3 separate regions of the Homo sapiens genome follow, and all the other regions are linked to region 1. Evidence: promoter capture Hi-C in 16 types of primary human blood cells and fetal thymus (Javierre and others, 2016). All regions are on one chromosome and are shown on one strand. The core of a region is centred on a gene start or on the middle of the fragment in contact, and the rest is flanking DNA. Distances in the headings are between cores, read along the strand shown.

The links. The method cuts DNA at HindIII sites, captures the fragments that hold promoters and counts their contacts. A CHiCAGO score of 5 or more calls a contact.
Region 2: a contact is called between the fragment with the promoter of SPAG5 here and the fragment with the promoter of NUFIP2 in region 1, in 1 of 17 cell types (naive CD8 T cells). The highest score is 5.9, in naive CD8 T cells.
Region 3: the fragment with the promoter of NEK8 here is called in contact with the fragment with the promoter of NUFIP2 in region 1 in 1 of 17 cell types (naive CD4 T cells); the score reaches 6.7 in naive CD4 T cells.

Annotation. Positions count from the first base shown.
Region 1 is chr17:29,292,023-29,296,633 of GRCh38, reverse strand. NUFIP2 (nuclear FMR1 interacting protein 2) reads left to right here and starts at 2,486. Exons shown (of 4, transcript NM_020772.3): 1 at 2,486-2,851. The coding sequence starts at 2,575. RefSeq lists enhancers at 2,118-2,317, 2,628-2,727, 2,421-3,181 and silencers at 2,888-3,007, 3,638-3,817. The HindIII fragment of the contact is 5,437 bases long and covers 844-4,611 here.
Region 2 is chr17:28,596,974-28,601,584 of GRCh38, reverse strand. SPAG5 (sperm associated antigen 5) reads left to right here and starts at 2,560. Exons shown (of 24, transcript NM_006461.4): 1 at 2,560-2,689; 2 at 2,950-3,075. The coding sequence starts at 2,639. SPAG5-AS1 (SPAG5 antisense RNA 1) reads right to left here and starts at 2,452. Exons shown (of 3, transcript NR_040012.1): 1 at 2,339-2,452; 2 at 1,730-1,887. RefSeq lists enhancers at 2,050-2,129, 2,354-2,898 and a silencer at 2,340-2,649. The HindIII fragment of the contact is 7,511 bases long and covers 1-4,611 here.
Region 3 is chr17:28,726,689-28,731,299 of GRCh38, reverse strand. It overlaps NEK8 (NIMA related kinase 8), which reads right to left and starts at 2,512. Exons shown (of 15, transcript NM_178170.3): 1 at 2,440-2,512. The coding sequence starts at 2,486. It also overlaps a transcript of TLCD1 not described here. RefSeq lists enhancers at 1,912-2,635, 2,669-3,108, 2,636-3,359, 4,084-4,611. The HindIII fragment of the contact is 479 bases long and covers 2,312-2,790 here.

The sequences.
Region 1 (4,611 bases), core at 1,237-3,736:
GTACAGTGGCACAATCACAGCTCACTGCAGCCTCCACCTGGAGGGCTCAAGTCATCCTCCCATCTCAGCCTCCCAACTACAGGCACACACCACCATGCCAGGCTAATTTTTAAAAATTTTTGTAGAGAGAGAGTCTCTGTATGTTGCCCAGGCTGGTCTCGAACTGCTGGGTCAACTGATCTGCCATGGTCTCCCAAAGCGTTGGGATTACAGGTGTGAGCCACCACACCTGACCTGTTTTTTCTTTAATAATTGGGAACGTGGCAGAATATTATTCAGTGGTAAAGACTTATTGTGATATGATATTATTATTAGGGTTTTCATTCTCAAAATTGGGTAAATGTACCCCCAAAGAGGTTTTTCTTTAAAATTTAGCAAAGCTGGCTGGGCCTGGTGGCTCATGAATCCCAGCACTTTGGAAGGCTGAGGTGGGCAGATCACCTGAGATCAGGAGTTCGAGACCAGCCTGGCCAACATGGAGAAACCCCATCTCTATTAAAAATACAAAATTAGCCTGGCACAGTGGCGCATGCCTGTAATCCCAGCTACTCAGGAGGCTGAGGCAGGAGAATTGCTTGAACCCAGGAGGCAGAGGTTGCGGTGGGCTGAGATCATGCCATTGCACTCCAGCCTGGGCAACAAGGACAAAACTCCATCTCAAAATAAAATAAAATAAAATTTAACAAGGCAACACAAATCCTTACTGTATAGAACATGCCAAAATTTGGTCATGGTTTTCAGGATTCAATGACATTTGTTATTGGAAACCAGCTTTTACGTTTTAAATAAGCTTTTGCATTGACATTCATTAATTTCATAGCATAAACTTTTTGCTTTCAAGCTTCTTGTTCCTTTAATGTTGTCCTGTTGTAGGAATTCAAGCCACATTTTAAAAATTCAAAAACGTAACATACATTGAGGAAACAGTCCATATGTCCGTTGCTGAGTGAATGAACAAAATGTGGTATATACATATAATGGAATATTAGTCAGCCTTAAAAAAGAGGGAAATTCTGATGTATGCTACTCTGAAGACATTATGCAAAAAAGCTAGTCACAAAAAGACAAATACAGTACAATCCCACTTATATGAGGTACCTAGAATAGTCAAGTTCGTAGAGACAGAAAACAGAACAGTGGTTATCAAGGGATGGAAGGAGGAGGGAAAGGACATTTATTTTTATTGGGTATGAAGTTTCAGTTTGGAATGATGAAAAAGTTCTGGAGATAGATGATGGTCATGGTTCTACAACAATACGAATGTACCTAATGCACCTGAACCATACACTTAATATTAAGATGGTAAATTTTATATTATGAATATTTTACAATTAAAAAAATCCCCCAATCTATAACATACATTGGGAAAAGTGCATTTTATCTGTATATTCAGTTTAACAAATAATTACTAAGCAAATATATGTAATCACCACCTAGCCCCCAAAATGAAATATTATCAGAGTAACCTGTGTCCCTCCCCATCACAACCCTCTTCCTTCCTGAGTAACCACTATCATGGCTCTAACATTTGCTTTTGAAAATCATATACTGTGATGTGGTAATGCAGGATAAGTTAAATCTACACTACAAAACGCTACAGAATATTTCTTTTAATTTCAATTTTTCCATAAGTGCCAAAAAAAAAAAAAACAAACCCACTTAATAACTTTTAAGTGCTCTTTCTCCCCTTCCTTTGCTCTTGAAACTTCTCATTCTAAAACCTATTTTGGTTCCACAGTTGACCTCACCTGCAGAGTTTAATTAAAAAAAAAAAAACCTTCAGTGTAAATTTTCATTCCTCCTGCTCTCCCTTGCCTCCAACTACAAAGAAACAATGATTTAAACCCTTTGTGCCCTTTTAGAAAATTACACAGATACCCCATTGTGGAACCCTATAATCCCTTCGTGGAAAGGAAGAGATTAGCATATGAATACAAAGCAAAATGAATCCAGAATACAAAATGATCTACTGGATTGTGAAGCTCTTGTATGCTTAAAAATGTATTTATTTCCTCTTTTTGTATTGCCCCTTTAGTGGTCTCGGGGTTAAGGGAATTGAGCTTCCCTTTCTGGTTACCCGGAAAAGGATTAAAAACAAAACAAAACAAAAAACAAAAAAACACCAGATTCTAAGAGGTGCAAAGCCAGCAGATGGCTCACAGCACCAGTGGAATCGCCAGTGGAATCTGCTACCCTCGACACGAGCCTGCTTGCCGGCGAGGAGTGTAGAAAGTGCTGTTCACAGACTGCGTGGTGAAGGAGAGAAAGCGACAGAAGAGAGAGCCATAGTGCTGACGTTGAAGGCCCGGCCCTGTGAGGTTGCACAGGGTAAGTGGCGTTGGCCAGGCGGCAGCGGCGAAGGGGAAGGAAAGAGGATTTGAGCTGGGGGCGGGGCTTGCGGCACAGCGTGGCTCCTGATTGTTGGAGTGCGGCTGCCAATCTCGCAGAATCGCTCGGTTAACCAGTGCGCTGGCGAGACGCGCTCAGATATACTGAGTGAGCCCTGAGAAGCAGTCTCAGATCCTGACGGTGCAGCAGCCCGCAGCCTCAGCCAGGGAGTCCCAGCCGCTTTCAATGGAGGAGAAGCCCGGCCAGCCACAGCCTCAGCACCATCACAGCCACCACCATCCGCACCATCACCCTCAGCAGCAGCAGCAGCAGCCGCACCACCACCACCATTATTATTTCTACAACCACAGCCACAACCACCACCACCACCATCATCACCAGCAGCCTCACCAATACCTGCAGCATGGAGCCGAGGGCAGCCCCAAGGCCCAGCCAAAGCCGCTGAAACATGAGCAGAAACACACCCTCCAGCAGCACCAGGAAACGCCGAAGAAGAAAACAGGTCTGGGAGGGAGGACGGGTGGGGGAAGGGGGTTGGGGGTGGAGGACAGGAGAGATGGGGGTGGGGCTGGATCCGAAAAGCGCGGACGGGGTCGGGGTGTGTGTGTGTGTGTCCCCTCCGGCTCTGGGGATGCCCCTTTCATTCTAGAGCTCGGGCTGAGCAATGGGGTTTGCAGCGCCCTCTCCTTCCCTCCAGCATGGGAGAGGCCCAGCCAGGCCAGCGTGACCTTCCTGGCCCCGGCCCCGGCTGAAGGGAGACCTGCTGGGTCGGCCTTGCAAGTCCAACCTCATTATTCTTTTCCCATTCACCTCCCTGCGTCCCTGGAGTTACCTCAATTTGGGGGCCCTGAGATGGGGTAAACCTACCCCCCCAAAAAATCCCTCGAGGTGTAACTCAGGAAGGCCTAGCGAATCCCGACTCGGATGGTGTCGCGAGACCCTTTTGCAGGCGGCGAGGAGTGGGTAGGTAGGGTGAGTTGAGGAAGTGCCCCTCACCCGCCACCCCAAGCCCACCTGTGGCCTTGGGGCTCCCCGTCTCGGTGGGGGGGGCTGTTGGGACCCCTCATCTCACGGGTCATTTCCACCACTAAACGCCCTTTTTGGGCGCCGGACCCCGCAGTCTTGTCCCGCGGCTCCTCCCGAGGCCGGCGCCCCGCGCCCGCTCCCCCCAGAGCCGGCGCGGCTGGAATGTTCTCTCCTCCTCGCGGGGCCGCTTCCTGTCCGCCATGTTGGAAGCCGATTCCTGTCACCGACTCCGGCCCACTGAGGAGCGGAGGGGGAAGGGTGTCGAGGGCCACACGGGGCGGCGGAGCCGGGTGACCCGGGATCACCACCGGCCGCAGCCTCGCCCCCTGCACTGCGGGGGCGCCGGCGCCCCCCGCACCGCGGCCGCCCCCCCCCCCGTCGCCGGCCGGGGTTGTGTAACCCGGTGGCGGCGCGCGGCCCCGGGCGGGTCCCTGGGGTGAGGGGCGGGGGCGGTTGGGGTGGGGGAGGGAAGCGGCCACGAGGGGAGCGGCCTGCGCAGGGCCCCGCGCGCCAGCGGCCGCGTTTCCCGCTCCCGGGTGCGGCGGGAGGCGCGGGCAGTCGGGGCGGGGAGCCGGCCTCGAAGCGGAGCTGAGAGGGAAGGAGGCCGCGGGCGGCGGCCGCGGCGCTCCTAGAGGCAGGAGGCCTGGGGGGGCGGCGGGGGGATTCATTTCGGGTAGAGGCGGTGCCTGAGGCCGGGTGGGGTACCCAGCGGGAACCCAGCTCCCCGGTCACGAGTTTCTCTGCCACAGGAACCTCGTCTCCTGCCAGGTTCGCTCACGACTCCGCCTCTGAGGCTTTCACTTGGGCCTTTTCCTTCTAGCAGCTCATTTTCTACAAAAAAAAAAAAAAAATCCAAAAACCTTGTTCCATTCCCCTCCCGACCCAGCACTTACCTTCTGAGCTTGGGTAGTGTCTTTGAGGTGAGGGATTTTAAAAAATGTTAGGATGGGGAAGAGTGCGAGCTTTTTGACCCCTCTTTCTTGTCCTTAAGGGTGAACCCAAGTGGCTCATCCATGAGGTTAGACTACTACCATCTTGCCTCGGATGAGGCTTCTCTCCGTGTTAAAAAGAAAGGTGTTTTTCGTATTTTAAAATCGATATTGATCCCCAAACTAATCTTAATAAACGAGAAATTGAGGGTAAAAGTCATGTAAGAAAGTATTTCACGAGAAGTGAGTTTAATAGTTTATAACCCACGCAGATTTTAAAAAATAAGGGCTCTTTATAAATCGAAGA
Region 2 (4,611 bases), core at 1,311-3,810, 700 kb after region 1:
CTCAAGAGACTGAGGTGGGAGGATTGCTTAAGCCTGGGAGGCAGAGGTTTCAGTGAGCCAAGATCAGCCAAACCACTGTGCCTGGCCCACATAAGTAATTTTTAATTTGCTAGTATCCACATTCAAAAAGTAAAAAGAGGGGCCGGGTAGAGTGGCTCATGTCTGTAATCCCAGCACTTTGGGAGGCTGAGGCGGGTGGATCTCCTGAGCTCAGGAGTTCAAGACTAGCCTGGCTAACATGGTGAAACCTGTCTCTACTAAAAATACAAAAATTAGCCAGGCGTGGTGGCACATGCCTGTAATCCCAGCTCCTTGGGAGGCTGAGGCAGAAGGATCGCTTGAGCCTAGGAGGTGGAGGTTGCAGGGAGGTGAGATCGTGCCACTGCACTCCAGCCTGGGCAACAGCGCCAGACCATGTTTCAAAAAAAAAAAAAATTAGATTAAAAAAAAAAGTTTAAAAAGGCTGGGTGGGGTCGTTCATGACTGTACTCCCAACACTTTGGGAGGCTGAGATGGGAGGATCGCTTGAGCCTAGGAATTCAATACCAGCCTGGGCAATATGGCAAGAGACTGTCTTTATAAAAAATTAGCCAGGCGTGGTGGCACATGCCGGTAGTCCCAGCTACTCAGGAGGCTGAGGCAGGAGGATTGCTTGAACCTAGGAGTTCAAGGCTGCAGTGAGCCATGATTGCACCACTGCACTCCTGCCTGGGTGATAAAGCAAGACCCTGTCTCAAAAGAAAATTAATTTTAATGTATTTTATTTAACCCAATATTCCTAAAATATTTCAATATGTAAACAGTATTAAAAAAAAAAAATATATATATATATATTTTTTTTTTTTTTTGAGACAAGGTCTTGCTTTGTCGCCCAGGCTAGAGTGCAGTGGGATGATCATAGCTCACAGCAGCCTTGAACTAGGTTCAAGCGATCCTCCCAAGCTGGGATTATAGGTGTGTGCCCCCAACCCTGCCACCCCTGGCTTAACTTTTTTTTTTTTTTGAGACGGAGTCTAGCTCTGTCACCCAGGCTGGAGTGTAGTGGTGCCATCTCAGCTCACTGCAACCTCCGCCTCCCAGGTTCAAGAGATTCTTCCTGCCTCAGCCTCCCAAGTAGCTGGGATTACAGGCGTGTGCCACCACACCTGGCTAATTTTTGTATTTTTAGTAGAAACGGGGTTTCGCCGTGTTGGGCAGGCTGGTCTCGAACTCCTGACCTCAGGTGATCCGCCTGCCTCGGCCTCCCGAAGTGCGGGATTATAGGCGTGAGCCACCGTGCCCGGCCCAAATTTTTTTTTTGTAGACATAGGTCTCACTATATTGCCGAGGCAGGTCTCGAACTCCTGGGCTTAAAGGATCCTCCTGCCTCTGTCTCCTCCGTGCTGGGATTACAGGCATGAGCCACCGCACCTGGCGATATTTTGCATTCTTTTTTTCATACGACGTGTTTGAAATCCAGTTTGTACAGTGTTTTACATTTATAGCACATTCCCACTGGGACTAGTCACATCTGAAGTGCTCAAAAGCCACTATGGCTAGGGCTAACGTACTGGACAACACAATGCTAGAGGAGCCCGTCCCTGAGGACGCTGCAGTTTATAACATCATAGTTCCTCCTCTTTGGACTGCTGCTTTCCCCCTATGTATTAAGACTTGCAGAGTGTAAACAGGGCGCCGTGAGTGTGCAAAGCACACACACCTTCGCAAACGGCTCACTCTGAATACTGACCTTTCGGCTGTCCTACCTTCAACAGGTTTCCCGTGCATAGGAGATCCAAGACAGCAGAAGGCAGGAGCTGGCGGGACAGGGAGGAAGAGCGGCTCTGCCGTTTACTATCTGTGTGACGCTGAGCAAATTACACACGGTCTCTCTGACTCAGCTCCTTCCTGTCACAAATGGGGATATTTATAGTATTTCTCACTACGTAGGTCCTTATGCGCATTAAATGAGCTACTACACGGCATTCGGCATAGCGCCAGGCACACACTCAATGTTCAATACATGTAGGCGGTTAGCCCAGTAAACTGGTAGCCGGCCTGAGTAAGTCCCAGGAAAAGCCCAGAAACTCTGGAGACATTACAGCCCAGGTCGAGAACCACGGCCCGGGCCGTCCCGGACGCGGGCCCACCAAGCCTAGGGAAGCCGCTCGGCACCGCTTCGGCTTCTAGACTCCCTGGCCGGCTCTTTCCCGTCAAGGCTGCGGCTGGAGAGGACTGAGGGAGACCTAGGGAGAGGATTCCTCTTCTCCATCCACGGAGACAACTTGGATATGAACACCATGGATGTGAGGAGGTCCGCTGGAAGCAGGAGGGATGGACTCCTGGACTCTCCAGCTACCTGCGTGGTCCTCCCCGGTGTGAGGACAGAAGACCGGTCCTGGGCCGGGCCCGCATCCAGCCCTACCGCCGGTGTCTGAGGTGAGGGCTCCGTCAGCGGAAAACGCTCGACAACGGAGGGGCAGGCAGGGCCGGGGGCGTGGTCAACGCGGGCCCCGCCCCCCGGGCTCTACCCCCGAGCGTACGCGCGCGCCTGAAGCAGCCAACCAGGAAGCGCAGAGCAGGTTCAAACACAGACGGCGGGTGAACATGGCGTCCTCGACTTGGTCTGAGACGTGATAGGCCTGCCTTCTGGTTGAAGATGTGGCGAGTGAAAAAACTGAGCCTCAGCCTGTCGCCTTCGCCCCAGACGGTAAGCGGGAGATCTCTGGCGGAGAGAACTGGGCCGGGCTGCTGTCGCGGGGGCACCGGCCGTGTCTACTGTCCTGGAAAGTTGGGTCGAGCCCGGGGTTGGGGGCTTGTGGAGTCTTTGTTCGCCTTGCTGCTCCTGCGCGACTAGGGTGCGAGCGTACTCTTCTAATCGCATTTTGGGCTTCTTAGGGAGGGAGGAGGGGCGGGCTGGCAGAACCCAGGCTTCCTCACACTCGCCCTCTTTCTTGGTTTCTTTCTCAGGGAAAACCATCTATGAGAACTCCTCTCCGTGAACTTACCCTGCAGCCCGGTGCCCTCACCAACTCTGGAAAAAGATCCCCCGCTTGCTCCTCGCTGACCCCATCACTGTGCAAGCTGGGGCTGCAGGTGAGATTCGCCTGGACAGCTTCTCGACTGGGCTGTTTGCCCAGGGTGAGAGCTCAGGGGAACAGAGGGCCAGGGCTACAATAATTAATAACGATAATGAAGTCTTCTACGTCGGTGACATCCATTTACAGCTATTCAGGCCAACAGAGAGGTGCCCTAGGGTGGTTAAAGGAAATCCAGTGAGAACTTGAATCTCTGTTTAGCTGTTAGTTTTTATTACCTCCTCCTCCTCCCTTCGACCTTTATCAAACTATTGAGAAATCCTACCACCCTGATTAGTGCTCTTCCTCCAACATGGGGTCACTTACGGAAAGGTCAGTCACCTGCAAGATTGAGGCAATATCCATTTACTCTAGGAGGTAGTTAGAACTCTCCTGGGATCAAGTTACACCACTGGAAGGTAGGGTACTTGAATCACCTTAGTTTAAACTAGCTCCTTGCAGAATTGCCCTCACTGATTTGTACTTTTGTTAAACGTTTTGAGAGACGTAGCCATGTAGAAACTGCATTTCAGTTGCTGTCAAAACTTGTCAAGGAAGCAGCTTGACTCCTGTATAAGATTCCTCCAAGAAAGGCTTTAGGACTAACTGCCTGGAAAAATTGTCTTCCTGAAGAAATTGCTATCCTTTTCTTTCTGATAATGAGAACTATGTAGTTTACCATATTTTCCCTCTTGCTCTGCCTTCTAGAAAGCTCAAGGCCAAACTGGATCATCACATACAGCTACTGTTATAGCTGTATAGGAAGTTTTGCTTCCTCTTTTTTGACCATGACTTTGTTATTTCATTAATCGTATCTATTCATTTTCATGCATATGAATTATTTTTGGAAGGAGATGGGATATCAATAAAATAGGTATGAGGAGGAAAGAAGAGTGTATAGACAGATGACATCCTGAGTAACAGAAGTATGATGATAGCATAGCAGTCTTTCTTGAAAGAGTTGCAAAATACCTACTGTCCAATAGAACTTTCTGGGATGAGGGAAATATTTGATAATCTGTGCTGTCCAGCATGGTAACTACTAGTCACATGGTTATTGAGCACTTAAAACGTGGCTGAGGTGACTGAAGAATTGAATTTTTTTGTTTTTGAGACGGAGTCTTGCTCTGTCACCCAGGCTGGAGTGCAGTGGCGTGATCTTGGCTCACTGCAATCTCCGCCTCCAGGGCTCAAGCGATTCTCCTGCCTCAGGCTCCTGAGTAACTGGGATTACAGGTGCACACCACCACGCCTGGCTAATTTTTTGTATTTTTAGTAGAGACAGGGTTTCACAATGTTGGCCAGGCTGGTCTCAAACTCCTGACCTCAAGTGGTCCGCCCGCCTCGGCCTCCCAAAGTGCTGGGATTACAGGTGTGAGCCACTGTGCCTGGCCTGAATAATTGAATATTTAATTTAATTTAATTTAATTAATTTTTTTTTGAGATGGAGTTTCGCTCTTGTTGCCCAGGTTGGAGTCCAATGGCGCGATCTCGGCTCACCGCAACCTCTGCCTCCCGGGTTCAAGCGATTCTTCTGTCTCAGCCTCCGGCATGT
Region 3 (4,611 bases), core at 1,263-3,762, 570 kb after region 1:
CCAAAGTGCTGGGATTACAGGCATGACCCCCACGCCCGGCCTTTTTGTTTTTATTTTTTTTTGAGACAGAGTTTCACTCTTGTTGCCTAGGCTGTAGTGCAATGGCACAGTCTCAGCTCACTGCAACCTCTGCCTTCCAGGTTCAAGCGATTCTCCTGACTCAGCCTCCCAAGTAGCCGTCACAACACCCAGCTAAATTTTGTATTTTTAGTAGAGATGGGGTTTCACTGTGTTGGCCAGGCTGGTCTCGAACTCTTGACCTCAGGTGATCCAACCACCTCGGCCTCCCAAAGTGCTAGAATTACAGGCCTGAGCCACCGTGCCCGGCCCCTTCTTTCTTTCCTTTCTTTCTTTTTTTCTTGTATTATTTCTTTTTTTAGATAGGTTCTCACTCTGTCAACCAAGTTGAAGTGCAGGGGTCTCATCTCAGCTTACTACAGCCTCCACCTCCCATGCTCAAGTGATCCTCCCACCTCAGCCTCCTGAGTAGTTGGGACTACAGGCACATGCCAATGCCACCATACCTGGCTAATTTTTTTATTTTTTTGTAGACAGGGGGACTCATTGTGTTGCCCAGGCTGGTCTCTAACTCCTAAGCTCAAGCAATTGCCCATCTCGGCCTCCCAAAGTGCTAGGATTATAGGCGTGAGCCACTGCACCCTGCCCCTTTTCAGAAAACTCTGCCAAGTCTCAGGATCACTCTTCCTCTTTAAAACCCTTCCTGGTGGCTGGGAGTGGTGGCTCACGCCTGTAATCCCAACACTTTGGGAGGCAGAAGCAGGTGGATCGCCTGAGGTCAGGAGTTCGAGACCAGGCTGGCCAACATGGTGAAACCCTGTCTCTACTAAAAATACAAAAAATTAGCCAGGCATGGTGGCACACGCCTGTAAGGCTGAGGCAGGAGAATTGCTTGAACCCGGGAGGCGGGGCTTGCAGTAAGCCAAGATGGTGCCATTGCACTCCAGCCTGGGCAACAGAGGAGACTCTGTCTCACAAAAAAAAAAAAAAAAAAAAAAAAAAAATTAGCCGGTTGTTGTGGCGTGTGCCTGTAGTCCCAGCTACTCAGGATGCTGAGGCAGGAGAATTGCGTGAACCCGGGAGGCGGAGATTGCAGTGAACTGAGATTGCCACTACACTCCAGCCTGAGCGACAGTGCAAGACTCCGTCTCAAAAACAAAAACAAAAACAAAACAAAACCGTTTGTGGCAAATGAACCTTTTATCTCAGGTTATCAGGCCATAATCTAGTCCCCGCCCTCGACAATTACATTTTATACCATTCTCTACCTTGCCCACTACATTCCAACTATTACTAGTCTTTCTCGGTTTCTTGAATGCTCTGTTTTCCCATGTGAGACATTTCACATACGCTATTTCCTTTGCCTGAAAAGTTCTCCCTTCACCTGCAGACTACTGGTCCTCATTCCTCAAGTCTTGGCCTTAAATCTCACTTCTGGCCTGTCGCGGTGGCTCACGCCTGTAATTCCAGCACTTAGGGAGGCCGGCGCGGGCGGATCACCTGAGGTCAGGAATTTGAGACCAGCCTGGCCAACATGGCGAAACCCCATCTGTACTAAAAACACAAAAAATATTAGCTGGGCATGGTGGCGCGTGCCTGTAGTCCCAGCTACTCGGGAGGCTGAGGCAGGAGAAGCGCTTGAACCAGGGAGGCAGAGGTTGCAGTGAGCTGAGATAGTGCCACTGCACTCGAGATCGCGCCACTGCGACAGAGTGAGACTGCCTCAAAAAAAAAAAAAAAAAAAAAAAATCCAAAAAATTTAGCCGGGCATGGTGGCGCACGCCTGTAATCCTAGCTACTCGGGAGGCTGAGGCACAACGATTGCTTGAACCCAGGAGGTGGTGGTTGCAGTGTGCCAAGATCGTGCCACTGAACTCCAGCCGGGGTGACAGAGGGAGACTCTGTCTTAAAAATCAATCAAGCAAGCAAGCAATCTCCCTTCTCAGAGAATTCTTCCTTGACCATCTCATATAAGTATTCTCACTGGTAATGTACTCTATCCTCACAACCTGCTAATAACACTTCATAACTGCTATAACTTCTTACTTCATAATGTTTTGTTTATTGTATAACTTTCCCACAGTCAGTAAGTTCCAAGAGGGAAAAGACCACGCCCGTTCCGGTTCTAACTATATACCCAGCGGCCAAAGCCTGACATACATAGCTGGCACTCAGTATTTGTTGAACGAATGAATAAAGAAGCTAACATAACTCAGTGGGCGGAGCAATGGGCCTGTCAGGGGCGTGGCCTCCGTAGAGGCGGAGTCTCCCCGGGGGACTGGGACCGGAAGCTTGGGCGGGGCTTCCCAGAGTGGCGCTCACGCCTTGGGGCGGGATTAGGCGGGCGGCGACTTCGCGGGCGGAATTGGGGCTTATTTTCCCTATCCCCTAGCAGTTTCCTCCCCCAGAGCCCTGGCTCACCCGAAGGCACCTCTCCCCACCACTCGGATCCGCTCGTACTTCTCCATCTCATTTCTTAGAGTTTCACTTCCGTCCCCCACGCGGCGCGTGCGCGGACCCACCCACTCTGGGCCCCGCCCCTTCACGGCGAGCGGCTTGCGGGGCGGAGCCAGCGCCCTAGGTGTGGGTTCCGCCACGCGTCCGTATTTGTGGGCCTGCACCACACACCTCCCGCTGCGACACGCCGTCACTTTTCCCCTCACGACCCTGCCCCACGCAGTGTCCAAGAATAGGGCAAGAAAATAGGGCGCGCCCGCAATGGCGGGCACGGTACCCGCCCCTCCCACACATATACCCAGCCCTTGTAAAGCTTGCTAGACTAAAAGGATGTCGCGTTCCCGAGAGTTAAACCCCACAGGCCGGGAAGGGGTGGGAAGAGAAGATTGACCCCCTTCTTGCCCACGAGTGACGCTATTTCAGGAGAAAGCGGGTTCTCCTTGGCACGCAAACGATAAACACACCCAAAACGACCGAGACCAGCGCTCCTGGGAGAAGGCAGCAGGGTTGGTTTCGTGTTTGCCTGGGGAGGGACGGGGGAAATCCCAAGTCGTGCAAGTTGATTCACCTGAAGAGGACATGACACGGTCTCGGGCCGTCCCGACTAGTGAGCGCCGCGCTCGTCAGCACTCTCAACTCCCCTTTCACACACGCGCTGCAGGAGGGTAATCTGCCCTCAGTGCTCATCTTCCCATGGGGGAAGATGGGGGCGGTAGTGGGTCAGTACCTGAAAGCATCAAGGGGAGAAGGAAAGACCGCGGTTTCGCCGAAATGAGCTCAAGGCAAAAGCCTAGAGGCAGGGGGCTGGTTAGTGTGACCAGCTAGGCTCTTTACCGGAAGTGAGGTTAATTCCAGGTTCTCCCGGGCTCCTGCTCTGCGGGAGCTCTAGAAAAACTCAGTATTCGGCCAGGCGCGGTGGCTCACGCCTGTAATTCCAGCACTTTGGGGAGGCCGAGGCGGGCGGATCACCTGAGGTCAGGAGTTTGAGACCAACCTGGCCAACATGGTAAAACCTCGTCTCTACTAAAAATACAAAAATTAGTTGGGCACGGTGGCGCGCGCTTGTAATCCCAGCTACTCGGGAGGCTGAGGCAGGAGAATCGCTTGAATCTGGGAGGCGGAGGTTGCAGTGAGCCGAGATCGTGCCATTGCACTCCAGCCTGGGCGATAGAGTGAGCCTCCATCTCAAAAAAAAAAAAAGAAAGAAAGAAAACATCAGTATTCAGGAGGAGGATGGTCACTAGCTGAAGGTTAGCGTCCCTGTATCAGAGTGGGCAAGGGGTGTGAGGAAAGGGGCGTTTTATCTTCTGCCCCTGTCCTGGCTCTCGCAAGGGTATCCAAACCCACCCACGTGGAATGACTGCTGGAAGGGCGCTGGCTCAGGCCGGTGTCGGCCGGCGGACAGAGCAGCTCTGTGAGCCAAGGGGAGGGGCGGGAAAGCCGCTCACCCAGGACACCCGTGTTCTCACCTAGAAACCGACTGGGCTTTGGTTGACTTAAGAGTCCCACAGGGGTTAATGTGTAACCTTGGAGCCATAGGGGAGGAAAACACTCAAACGGCTTGGTCCCTGGGTCCTTGCGCCTCAGGTTTTCTCGGCTTCTTCCTCCCGCCCGCAGCACCTTTCCCCTCCCCCGCTTCTTCCCGCCCCTCCTCTATTACTACCCTCTTCTCCCTCCCCGCTCTCATCTCCGCTTAACTTCCCTCGCTGGCTCTCAGCTGCTCCTCCTTTCGCCCAGAGTTTATACCTAAACTCTCCCCGAAAGCAGCTGCCTCGCTCGGAGGCGGGAGGGGGAGCCCGCGCCACAGTGAGGGCAGGCTGACACCTAGTGGCTAGGAGCCGCAACTGCTGCAAGCTACCGGCTTGGAGAGCGCGGGTCACTCCAGCTGTCCCGGCAAATCGGAGGTCTTGCTTGCCCAGCCTCCGGGGAGCCGGGCCGAGGGCCGGGACTGTCTGAGGGAGGACTGTGACAGCCGCCCGGCCCCAGGAGTTTAAGAGCCGGCGGGAAGAGGTGGCGATGGGTTACTCAGCAGTTCCCAAGTGCCCACCTCGCGGGCGCGGGAGGGACAGGTAAACACGGGACTCCGGCCAGAAGACTGCGAGTGGTGCGGTAGGGGCACTGGGTCTGCACGGAGAC